2 separate regions of the Homo sapiens genome follow, and region 2 is linked to region 1. Evidence: promoter capture Hi-C in human tissues and cell types (Jung and others, 2019). All regions are on one chromosome and are shown on one strand. The core of a region is centred on a gene start or on the middle of the fragment in contact, and the rest is flanking DNA. Distances in the headings are between cores, read along the strand shown. Region 1 holds the start of CA7 (carbonic anhydrase 7). Region 2 overlaps CBFB (core-binding factor subunit beta).

The links. The method cuts DNA at HindIII sites, captures the fragments that hold promoters and counts their contacts. A contact is called where the count stands out against the background at its distance.
Region 2: a fragment that was not itself captured here is called in contact with the fragment with the promoter of CA7 in region 1 in 5 of the 25 tissues and cell types used here (adrenal gland, dorsolateral prefrontal cortex, heart left ventricle and 2 more).

What each region holds. Positions count from the first base shown.
Region 1 is chr16:66,842,209-66,847,332 of GRCh38, reverse strand. CA7 (carbonic anhydrase 7) reads right to left here and starts at 2,919. Exons shown (of 7, transcript NM_005182.3): 1 at 2,806-2,919; 2 at 106-303. The coding sequence starts at 2,845. The region is part of intron 3 of LOC124903699 (a long non-coding RNA gene); the gene reads left to right. RefSeq lists an enhancer at 2,490-2,991. The HindIII fragment of the contact is 13,624 bases long and covers 1-5,124 here.
Region 2 is chr16:67,044,439-67,049,562 of GRCh38, reverse strand. The region is part of intron 3 of CBFB (core-binding factor subunit beta); the gene reads right to left. Among named protein-coding and RNA genes, the nearest start is that of CBFB, 18 kb to the right of the region's middle. The HindIII fragment of the contact is 7,078 bases long and covers 1-5,124 here.

The DNA.
Region 1 (5,124 bases), core at 1,670-4,169:
AACCTTTCTTACCCACCATAGCATGCTTCCTGAGACTGCCCAACACAAGGTTAGGACCCTAAGGGGCCAGGGGCCAGGTGCCAGGCTTTGGCAGGGGCCACTTACCGGTTCGGTCATCGCTGTCATTGAAGTCTACCTGGACAGAGTGGCCATTGTTGGTGATGCTGAGGGACATGCAGGCCTCATAGGAAAGCTCCAGTGGTTGCAGGCTGGGAGAGTACACAGCCTGGCTGGAGATGATATTGATGGGTGATTGGCGATCTCCCTGGGCAATGGGATACAGCTTGTGCCAATGCGAGGGGCCTGCAGGTGGGGAGGAGGGCAAGGACTCAGGCCAGCCAGGATCTCTGGGCTTCAGGCCGAGGACACCCATAGGGGAATGGTCTCTTCAGCATCCTTTCAGAGGTGAGCCCCTGCATTGGAGCTGCACAGCTTGGAGTTCCAATCCCAGCTTTGCCATTTCCCCTTTCAGCCTCCATTTCTTTGTCTGTGAAATGGTCTCACTAAAACTCACCTTCCAGTGCTGATAGGAGGCCCAGAGAGGTACTGTATGGAAGGGAACATAACAGCTACAGGCTCGGGGTGGCTCAGAGTAATAAGTCTCCCCAACAGGGAGACCTCCAGACATCTGAAGTCTCTGACCTGACCCCATCAGTATCTCACCTCTTTCTGTGCCTTGGGCAATTTGGTGTTGGTGTTTGTGATAAATAACAACAAAAACTCACATCAACCTAGCTTTGACTCTGTGACATGTATTTGCCTCTCACAACCACCTTGTGAAATAGAAACCAGCAAGATCCCCATTTCACAGATGAGGGAACTGAGGGCCACTCACACATGTGTGCATGCATATGTACTAATATAAATACAGCATGTGCATGCACTGCCCCCAGCTGCCCTCCCAATGTGTGTGCCTGCAAGTCCATAGAGATCTTCCTATGAACACATTAATCTTTCTATGATCTTCCATTGTGCACACAGAGCAGCCAGGCCCAGAACATTCATGTGTACAAACACACACACAGCCCTGCAGACTACATCTGACACACGCATATGCTCTCTCACACACAAACCCCTCTGTTGGAGACCCAAGTTTGCATAAAGGACCACAGCAAAACACATGCCCATGCACACACACACACACACACACACACACACCTGCATACACACCCACAGGCGCCCACCACCTGCCTCCCAGAGGATCCATCTGCAGCCGAGAGGCTCAGCATCTCCCTGGGGAACATCCTGAGATGCAGCCTATTTTTAGAGCTACTGCCGGCTGGTGCTTCTCCCCCTTTTTGGCTTCTTAAGTTTTCCTGAGAAAACAGCAGCAGGTGCCGACAGAGCCGTGTCCCCAATGGATGACTCAGAATCGTGGCCCGGCCCCTCTGGGTTATTTTTGAAGCCCTGTGAACACTGCTGCATGCCGGCACCTCTGTCCTCTGTCCTTCCCTTCCTCGACTGGACAATCCAGCTCTGCCTGGGTGATGGGGTGGCTGCTTTGGGGGAGCAGGCCCATGGAGCAGGCTACACAGGACACTGGGTGCTCAGAGCTGGTGGGCATGACTAGCAAGAAGAGCTGGAGGCAGGGGACTCTGGCTCTGGGGGAAGCACCCAAAAGGTGGCTCAGAGCAGGTGCTGGGAGAAGATGATCCCTATGGGTCCTGTCCATCTGCCCCATGTCTGCCTGTCTCTCCCTCTCTGCTTGTCTATATCATCTTTTTCTGAATGTCTCTTTCCAGCTCTTGCATACCCAGATCTGGGGGTTCTCTTCCAAAATATGCTCCTTTGTTCTTGGGGCCCCAGAGGGAGCCAAAGACTCCACAGCACCCTCCCTCTGGTCTACTGCAACTTTCTGGCTTCCCAGACTGTGGTCCCCCACCCAACCTCACAAAGTGACTGCCTCTCCGCAGAGGAGTGGGGCTGGGGGATGTTCCTCCCATCATTACTTTTTCTTCTCCGCACCCCACCTGTCTTGCACTGGCTCCCCAGGGAAATAGGGAACCCCTTACCCCACACCCCCACCCCTGCTTGGTAAGAAATGGCCCCAAAGGGAATTGACTGCCCCAGACCCACACTCCAGCCGTCTGGCTCTCACCTTCTGCCTCTTCTCCCTTTCTCTGAGTCCTAAGGAAACTGAGGCAGGATGAAGGAGCTCTCTTCCGCGTCAGCCCAGGAGGCTGGTGTGGGCCACGGGCTCCCACGACTCACACCCGGACGTGCGCAAACACCCTGCTCGGTGTAGACACCCAGACACATGCTTGCGCCCCCAAGTGCCCCCTTCCCTCACGTACCGGCCGAGAAGGCAGCTCGGCCACTTCTGCGGGGAAATTCTCTCCGGGGGACACTGCGCCCTTGCCACGCGGAGCCCCGCTCCCCCGAGGTCCCCGCTCACTTGCCGTGCGCGCTCCCCGCAGACACCCGCGCACAGCGCTCCGCGGCGCCCGCCCCCCGCTGCCCTGGGCCACCCCCACGCGCTGCGCACGCCCGGGGCGAGTGAGTGAGAGTCTGGGCCTGGGTCTGAGCGGGCTGGGCAATCAGGGGCTTCGCGGAGGAGGCGGCAGGACACAGCCGCCAGGTCGCTTGCTGGCGGCGGGGCCACCCGGGGCGCAGCGCGGACTTTGCGTCTGGCGCGGGGGACCAAGGCTTGGGCCAAGTTCGGGGGCCGGGATGGGAAGAGGGGTCCCGCCCAGCCTGGAGTGTGGGAGCTTTCCGGTCTGGGAAACCAGCTGGGCAAGAGGGTTGGGGCGAGTGCAGTTGGGTCGGGGGTCCGAGCCAGAGGCGGTGGGGGAGGTCTGTGCCTACCGTCGTCCTGGCCGTAGCCCCAGCCGTGGTGGCCGGTCATGCCGCTGCCGTCCCCGCAGCCGTGCACCTGCCCGGTCGGCTCGGTCCGCTCGTTCGGGCTGCGGCTCCGGCCCCGCTCGCTACCGCGGAGCAGCCTCTTAAAGCAGCGGCTGGCGGGAGGAGCAGTTCCCGGGGGACCCGCCCCCCACCCCCCAGCAGGGCCAGAGAGGCCGGCCTGCCCCGCCCTCGCCCGCCGGCGAGCCAGTTGAACCCCGAGCGGAGATTCAGGGCAGGAGGAAGTAACCCTCTCCCCCCAACTCCCACCCCTGCCCTGGCTGGGCGACTATCCCTCTTTTTCCCCCAGCAACCCGTGCGGACTCTGGGACACTAGATGCCCGTGCCGCACATGGCGTCCCTTCCCTAGGCTTGCCCCAGACCTGCAAATGCCACCACCAGAGACCTGAGCTCTGGGTCCTGAATCTTTTGGGGTTGGAAAGTCCCCTTTAAACTGCAAACTACACTGACCATCAAGTGTCCAAAACTGGAGCTTCCACTGTTTGCCAGAGGCTGTTGCAGGCGCTGGACCAAGCTTTGGGTCCTTCCTATGGTATAACCCTCTCTGTTACCCTACAAGGTTGGGTGCTTCCATCAGCCCTATCTGACAGAGGAGGGGAGTGAGGCCCAGAGAAGTGAAGTGACTTGCCCAAGGTCATCTAGCCAGGGGGTAAAGGGTTCATTAGCTGGGGTTCTTACTCCAGACACTGGGGGTTTTGTGGGATTTGTTTGTTTGTTTGTTTGTTTGCTTGTTTGTTTTTAGACAGAGTCTTGCTCTGTCACCCAGGCTGGTGCTATATCAGCTCACTGCAACCTCCACCTCCTTGATTCAAGTGATTCTTCTGCTTCAGCCTTCCAAGTAGCTGGGATTACAGGTGTGTGCCACCACATCCAGCTAATTTTTGTGTTTTTTGTAGAGATGGGGGTTTCACCATGTTGCCTGGGCTGGTCTTGAACTTCTGGCCTCAAGTAATCCACCCGCCTTGGCCTCCCAAAGTGTTGGGATTAGAGGAGTGAGCCACCACTCCTGGCCTGACACTGGGGTCTTTACCATTTCTCCTTGGTGCTGGGTACAAGGGTGTGCTGTGAGTGTGGGGGTCCGGGAACCCTGGGGTAGATGCAGGGACAGGAATGGCAATGTGAACCCTTGGCCCAGGTGGAACCAGATCCCCCAAGGGGGAGTGAGAAGGAGTGGCATCAACCAATGGGCCTGAAGACAGGCAGACACCAGGTGGCTTCCCCATGGAGCTAAGTCTGAGGCTCTGACTTCCACCCTCCCTGTTATTTTGTCTACTGCTTCCTCCTTTCTTCAGGGACTCTGCTTTGTCCCTCCATAGCCTGCTGTTTGTCCCTCCTCTCCTGACCTCCCCATAACCTTCAGTACACCCCCTGGGAGCTCAGACCCTCCACCCTGCACTCAACCCCAGTGCCTGCCTTGGCCCAGTATTTTCCCACCCACGAGCCCTGGTCGTTGTTGTGCCCTCCACCTGGTGCGTCCTCTGTCTTCCACCCACTGGCTCCAGCCGGCCCAATCTGATTCATCTTAGCACGTGGCCTTGTGCCAGGGAGAGGGCTTGTCTCTGGCTAGTCCTCAGCAGGCAGTTTTGGAAAGACAAACAGAGGGGTGGATGGAAGGACAGATAAATGATCCCACCCGGGGTCCTGTACTCAGCAGGAGTCGAACAGCCACTAGTACAATGTCTGCTGTCCAGATCTTGAATAGAGACACTCTTTCAGGCCCTGCTCTTGGCTGACCTTGTACAGGAATCTGCCATCTTGTCTGCCTGGCTCCCCTTCATCTCTGTGTCTGTCTCAGTTTCCCTCTCCCAGGCCCTGAACCCCAGATCCTCAGATAGAGCTATGGAGATTAATTGATAACTGGTTGGGTGGGCCAATGTCAGTGACTGCCCAGGCCTGCGAAGATGGCCCTCTCTGATCCAGGAGCAGGAAGGGATCCTTAATATAAATATGACCCTAGGGTGGGGCAGGGGACTTATGACAGAGATAAGTAGCCCCCAAGACCAGATGTGACAGAGAATCCAACACTGTCAAGGCCCCAGGTCTCCAAGCTGGAAATGGCATCTACAGATCAAGAAGACAAAGGCATGCTTCTGGGTGAGGCCTGGACCTTCTGTCTCCCAGAGAAGCCAGCCACCCTTTACCTGGGAGAGCTGCCAACATCCTTTACCTGGGAGAGAGCTCTGGGGATAGCCCAAACTCCATTGACCCATTTCCTCTTCAGAGGGACTCAGGTCTTTTTCATATTTATTTGTAGTTCTTAAAAGA
Region 2 (5,124 bases), core at 1,543-4,042, 200 kb before region 1:
TGGTTGTGCCATTGCATTCCAGCTTGGGAGACAGAGTCTGTCTCAAAAATAAACAGAATGGGGCCGGGCGCGGTGGCTCACGCTTATAATACCAGCACTTTGGGAGGCCAAGGTGGGCAGATCACCTGAGGTCAGGAGTTCGAGACCAGCCTGGCCAACATGGTGAAACCGTCTCTACTAAAAGTACAAAAATCAGCCGGGTGTGGTGGCAGGCTCCTGTAATCCCAGCTACTCAGGAGGCTGAGGCAGGAGAATAGCTTGAATCCGGGAGGCGGAGGTTGCAGTGTGCCGAGATTGCGCCACTGCACTCCAGCCTGGCAGACAAGAGACTCTGTCTCAAAATAAGTAAATAAATAAAAAATAAATAAAATGGTTCAGAGTTCTGAAATACTCACAAATTACATAATGGTGATGGTTGTGAATATATTAAAAACCACTCAGTGGCCAGGCGCGGTGGCTCACACCTGTAATCCCAGCACTTTATGAGGCCGAGGTGGGTAGATCACCTGAGATGAGGAGTTCAAAACTAGCCTGACCAACATGGAGAAACCCTGTCTCTACTAAAAATACAAAAAATTAGCCAAGCATGGTGGCACATGCCTGTAATCCCAGCTACTCGGGAGGCTGAGGTAGGGAATTGCATGAACCCGGGAGGTGGAGGTCGTGGTGAGCTGAGATGGCGCCATTGCACTCCAGTCTGGACAACAAGAGTGAAACTCCATCTCAAAAAAAAAAAAAAGAAAAAAAAAAAAAAGGCTAGACACGGTGGCTCACAAGGTCAAGAGATCGAGACCATCCTGGCTAACATGGTGAAAACCCGTCTCTACTAAAAAAATACAAAAAAATTAGCCAGGCGTGGTGGCGGGCTCCTGTAGTCCCAGCTACTCGGGAGGCTGAGGCAGTAGAATGGCATGAACCCGGGAGGCAGAGCTTGCAGTGAGCTGAGATCATGCCACTGCACTCCAGCCTCGACAACAGAGCGAGACTCTGTCTCAAACAAACAAACAAAAAACACCATTCAGTTGTGTAATTGGTGAATTAAGATGCTGACTTTCGTTTCAATTTTTAACTTCATGTAATATCTTATTTTAATATTTTATAAATAGCTTTTAAAAAAGTGAGTATAGTCTCACTGAGAATATGTGTCAGGAAGAACCAAAAAGCTCAATTCTCTCCCCTGGTCAACTGCCTGAATTTTCTTTTTTTCTTCATATCCAATGTTTTCATACAGAATATTCAGGATGGATATTTTAACCTTGGCCAATACATTTAAGGAAAATAAAAAATGTTTTAGGGGTTTTTTTTGTTATTTGTTTGTTTGGAGATGGAGCCTTGCTCTGTCACCCAGGCTGGAGTGCCGTGGTGCGATCTCTGCTCACTGCAACCTTTGCCTCCCAGGCCCAAGCAACTCTCCCACCCCAGCCTCTCTCAAGTAGCTGGAACCAGAGGCATGCGACACCACGCCTGACCAATTTCTGCATTTTTATTTTTATTTTTTTTGAGATGGAATTTTGTTCCCAGGCTGGAGTGCAGTGGCGCGATCTTGGCTCACTGCACCCTCTGCCTCCCAGGTTCAAGTGATTCTCCTGCCTTAGCCTCCCGAGCAGCTGGGACCAGAGGCACCCACCACCATGCCCAGCCAATTTTTGCATTCCTAGTAGAGACGGGGCTTCACCATGCTGGCCACGCTAGTCTTGAACTCCTAACCCCAGGCGATCCACCCGCCCTGGCCTTCCAGAGCACTGGGACCAAAGGCACGAGCCACGGCACCTGACCCAGTAAAAAAATGGCCAAGAAATGTTCTGGATAGCAAAGGGATGGATAGAAACTCAGGACTAAAAAGCTGGTGTGAATAAATATCCTAAAAAAAAAATTTAAAGGGTTCTCCCAAATGGCTCATTACTTAGAACACTGTTCTGCAAACAGGGCCACACGATTATTAGAAACTATCATTGTTATTATATGGAACAAACTTTGAACATCTATGATATGGGCAGATTTGTTTATTTGAAAACATCTACATTCTTCTAATGTAAATGTCGAAGTCACAAGTTTCTAGGCCATCCTTTTGTTTTAATCTGAAGATTAACCTGTCTTTACATCTGAAGTTTTAAAACACAAAAAGGCTCAGTACTGACTGCATACATGGGTAAAAGGTTTTTCATCCACAAAAACAACCTGCCAACCATCCCCAGACTCAGCCCTTTCCCTCTTAGGTACAGCCTGCATTAGAGTCCTGAAAGCACAGCAATACTGCCAAGAGGCACGTTTTATTTTTTTAAATAGTTTCCACACATGGCATTGAAGACATTTCAAATGGTATTTATTTATTGAGACAGAGTCTTGCTGTGTTGCCCAGGCTACAGTGCAGTGGCATGATCTCAGCTTATGCCTGGCTAATTTTTTTTTTTTTTTAGTAGAGACGGGGTTTCACTATGTTGGCCAAGCTGGTCTTGAACTCCTGACCTTGTGATCTGCCTGCCTTGGCCTCCTAAAGTGCTGGGATTACAGGTATGAGCTACTGCGCCCGGCCCTTCAAATGTTATTTAAAATTCTTAGTTCCTAAACACACATCAATTTGAGGAGGCCCAGCTTAAACTGAAAAGCTTATAACAGATAATACTTTCCAACTGTTCACGTGCATACTTTCATAAAAAAAGGAACAATAATTAAAGTCTACCATATCACTATTATACTTTAGCTTGTCTGTAGCTTCCAATCCTCTGTACAAAACTAAGCATCAAAGAATAATATTGAAGAAACAAAGTCTCTGCACCTGAAGGTAAACAGCATTTTTATGCTGTTAAAAAGAAATTACAAACGTTTTCTTCCCTGTAAGATGAGGATCACAAAAGTATCAGTGCATGTATGTCTGCATCAATTAGAACACTACCTGCAAGGGGGCATGAGGGAACTTTTTGAAGCAATGGTGAACTTTGGTGGTGGTTATACTACTGAATACACAGTTGTCACAGACTTGTACACTTAAAATAGGTGAACTGTACTACATGTAAATTATACCTCAATAATGCTGATTGAAAAACTACAAGTGAAAATGGGAAATAGTAAAACTAGGGCATAGCAGTGCTACAAAGAAATTAACATCTTCAGACAACAACATTTCAATAGTCTTTATCCTGGCAGCATTTGAATTAACCATTAAAAAAAAATGATGGGTACATGCCTGTAATCCCAGCACTTTGAGAGGCCAAGGCGAGAGGATTGCTTGAGTCCAGGAGTTTGAGACCAGCCTGGGCAACATGGTGAGACCCCCATATCTACAAAAAAATTACCTGGGCATGGTGGCGCGTGCCTGTGGTTCCAGCTACTTGGGAGGCTGAGGTGGGAGGATCGCTTGAGCCCAGGAGGCAGAGGTTGCAGTAAGCCAAGATCACACCACTGCACTCCAGCCTGGGTGACAGAGAGATATCTAGTTTCAAAAACAAACAAACAACAACAAAAAAGGCCAGGCACAGTGGCTCAGAGCGCCTATAATCCCAACACTTTGGGAGGCCAAGACAGGCGGATCACCTGAGGTCAGGAGTTTGAGACCAGCCTGGCCAAAATGGTGAAACCCCATCTCCAATAAAAACACAAAAATTAGCCAGGTGTGGTGGCGGGTGCCTGTAATCCCAGCTACTTGGGAGGCTGAGGCAGGAGAATCGCTTGAACCTGGGAGGCGGAGGTTGCAGTGAGCCAAGATTACATCACTGCACTCCAGCCTGGATGACAGAGCAAGACACTGTCTCAAAAAAAAAAAAAAAAATGTAGAAAGTAGAAGGAAGGAGGGGAAGAGTGAAGGATGCTCTTCTCAGACATATTATTTCTGCCTTCTCTCACTTGGAATATGTAATTCAGGAAAGGTCATGAAAGAGAATTTCACCTTTACACTAAAATGGAAATAATGCAATCCAAAAGAAGAGAAAACGGGACTTCACAATCTTCAAGTGCTTCAGAGGTGCATTTACCATGTATGCAGATTCACGTACTCTAACTGGAAGGTACTATGACATACTAATTTTAAAACATTTTAATTTTTTTTTTTTCAGACAGAGTCTTGCTCTGTTGCCCAGGCTGGAGTGTTGTGGTACAATCTCAGCCCACTGCAACCTCCGCCTCCCGGGTTCAAGCAATTCTCCTGCCTCAGTCTCCCAAGTAGCTGGGATTACAGGCACATGCCAGCATACCTGGCTAATTTTTTGTATTTTTAGTAGAGGTGGGGTTTCATCACGTTGGCCAGTCTGGTCTCGAACTCCTGACCTCAGGTGATCCACCTGCCTCGGCCTCCCAAAGTGCTGGGATTACAGGCATGAACCACCCCACCTAGCCAAAACATTTTAATTTTTTCAGAAAGTCGACTTCCTCTCTTAGATTGAAAAATAACTAAAATAACTAAAATAAAAACTTTTCTTTAAAAATACAAACGCTCTGCCAGCTACAAAGGTGTCAAATATATATATATATATAAGCTTGCAGTTACCAGTTCTAAATTTTATGATTCCGTTATTATTAGAGTATTATAGTTTATCTAAAGCATATTTTTAAAAACCAGATTTCAATACACTAAACTGTCAATAACTAAGTGCTGTCAATTCATATTTTAGTCGAACTGAAATACTTAAAATCCAGATGTGACAAGGTATTTGTAAAGTTGTCTAATTTCTCTTGAAGAAAATCACACTCCAAAGCTTTACCATAGAGATCTTTTATTTGGAATGACTGGGCTATCTACAGAGAAGGAACTTCTTGAGCTTAAATAGGGATTTCTCAAAGCTAACATCAAGAAGTCCTGTAAACTCTGCCAAATTGTGGATGGTATATAAACAAACACAATATGTATTTTGGGACAAAGATCCTGCAGGCAAGTGCGTAAATGGTACCAGAAGAAGCAGAATCATAGACCTTTATTAGAAAAGGCCATTTAAAATAAAATTCTGTCCTCACTCATTAAATCCAATCTTGTTAGATTTTGCTTTATTTTATGCTCATAAAAATAAATTAAAAGACTTTTAAGTATAAAGTCCAGAAAGAAAAAAAATACAACTTATCAAAATTTTTAAAAGTAGCTACTCTAATGACATATACTTAATAAATACTTCTCGATGTCTGACATTAATGTATTTG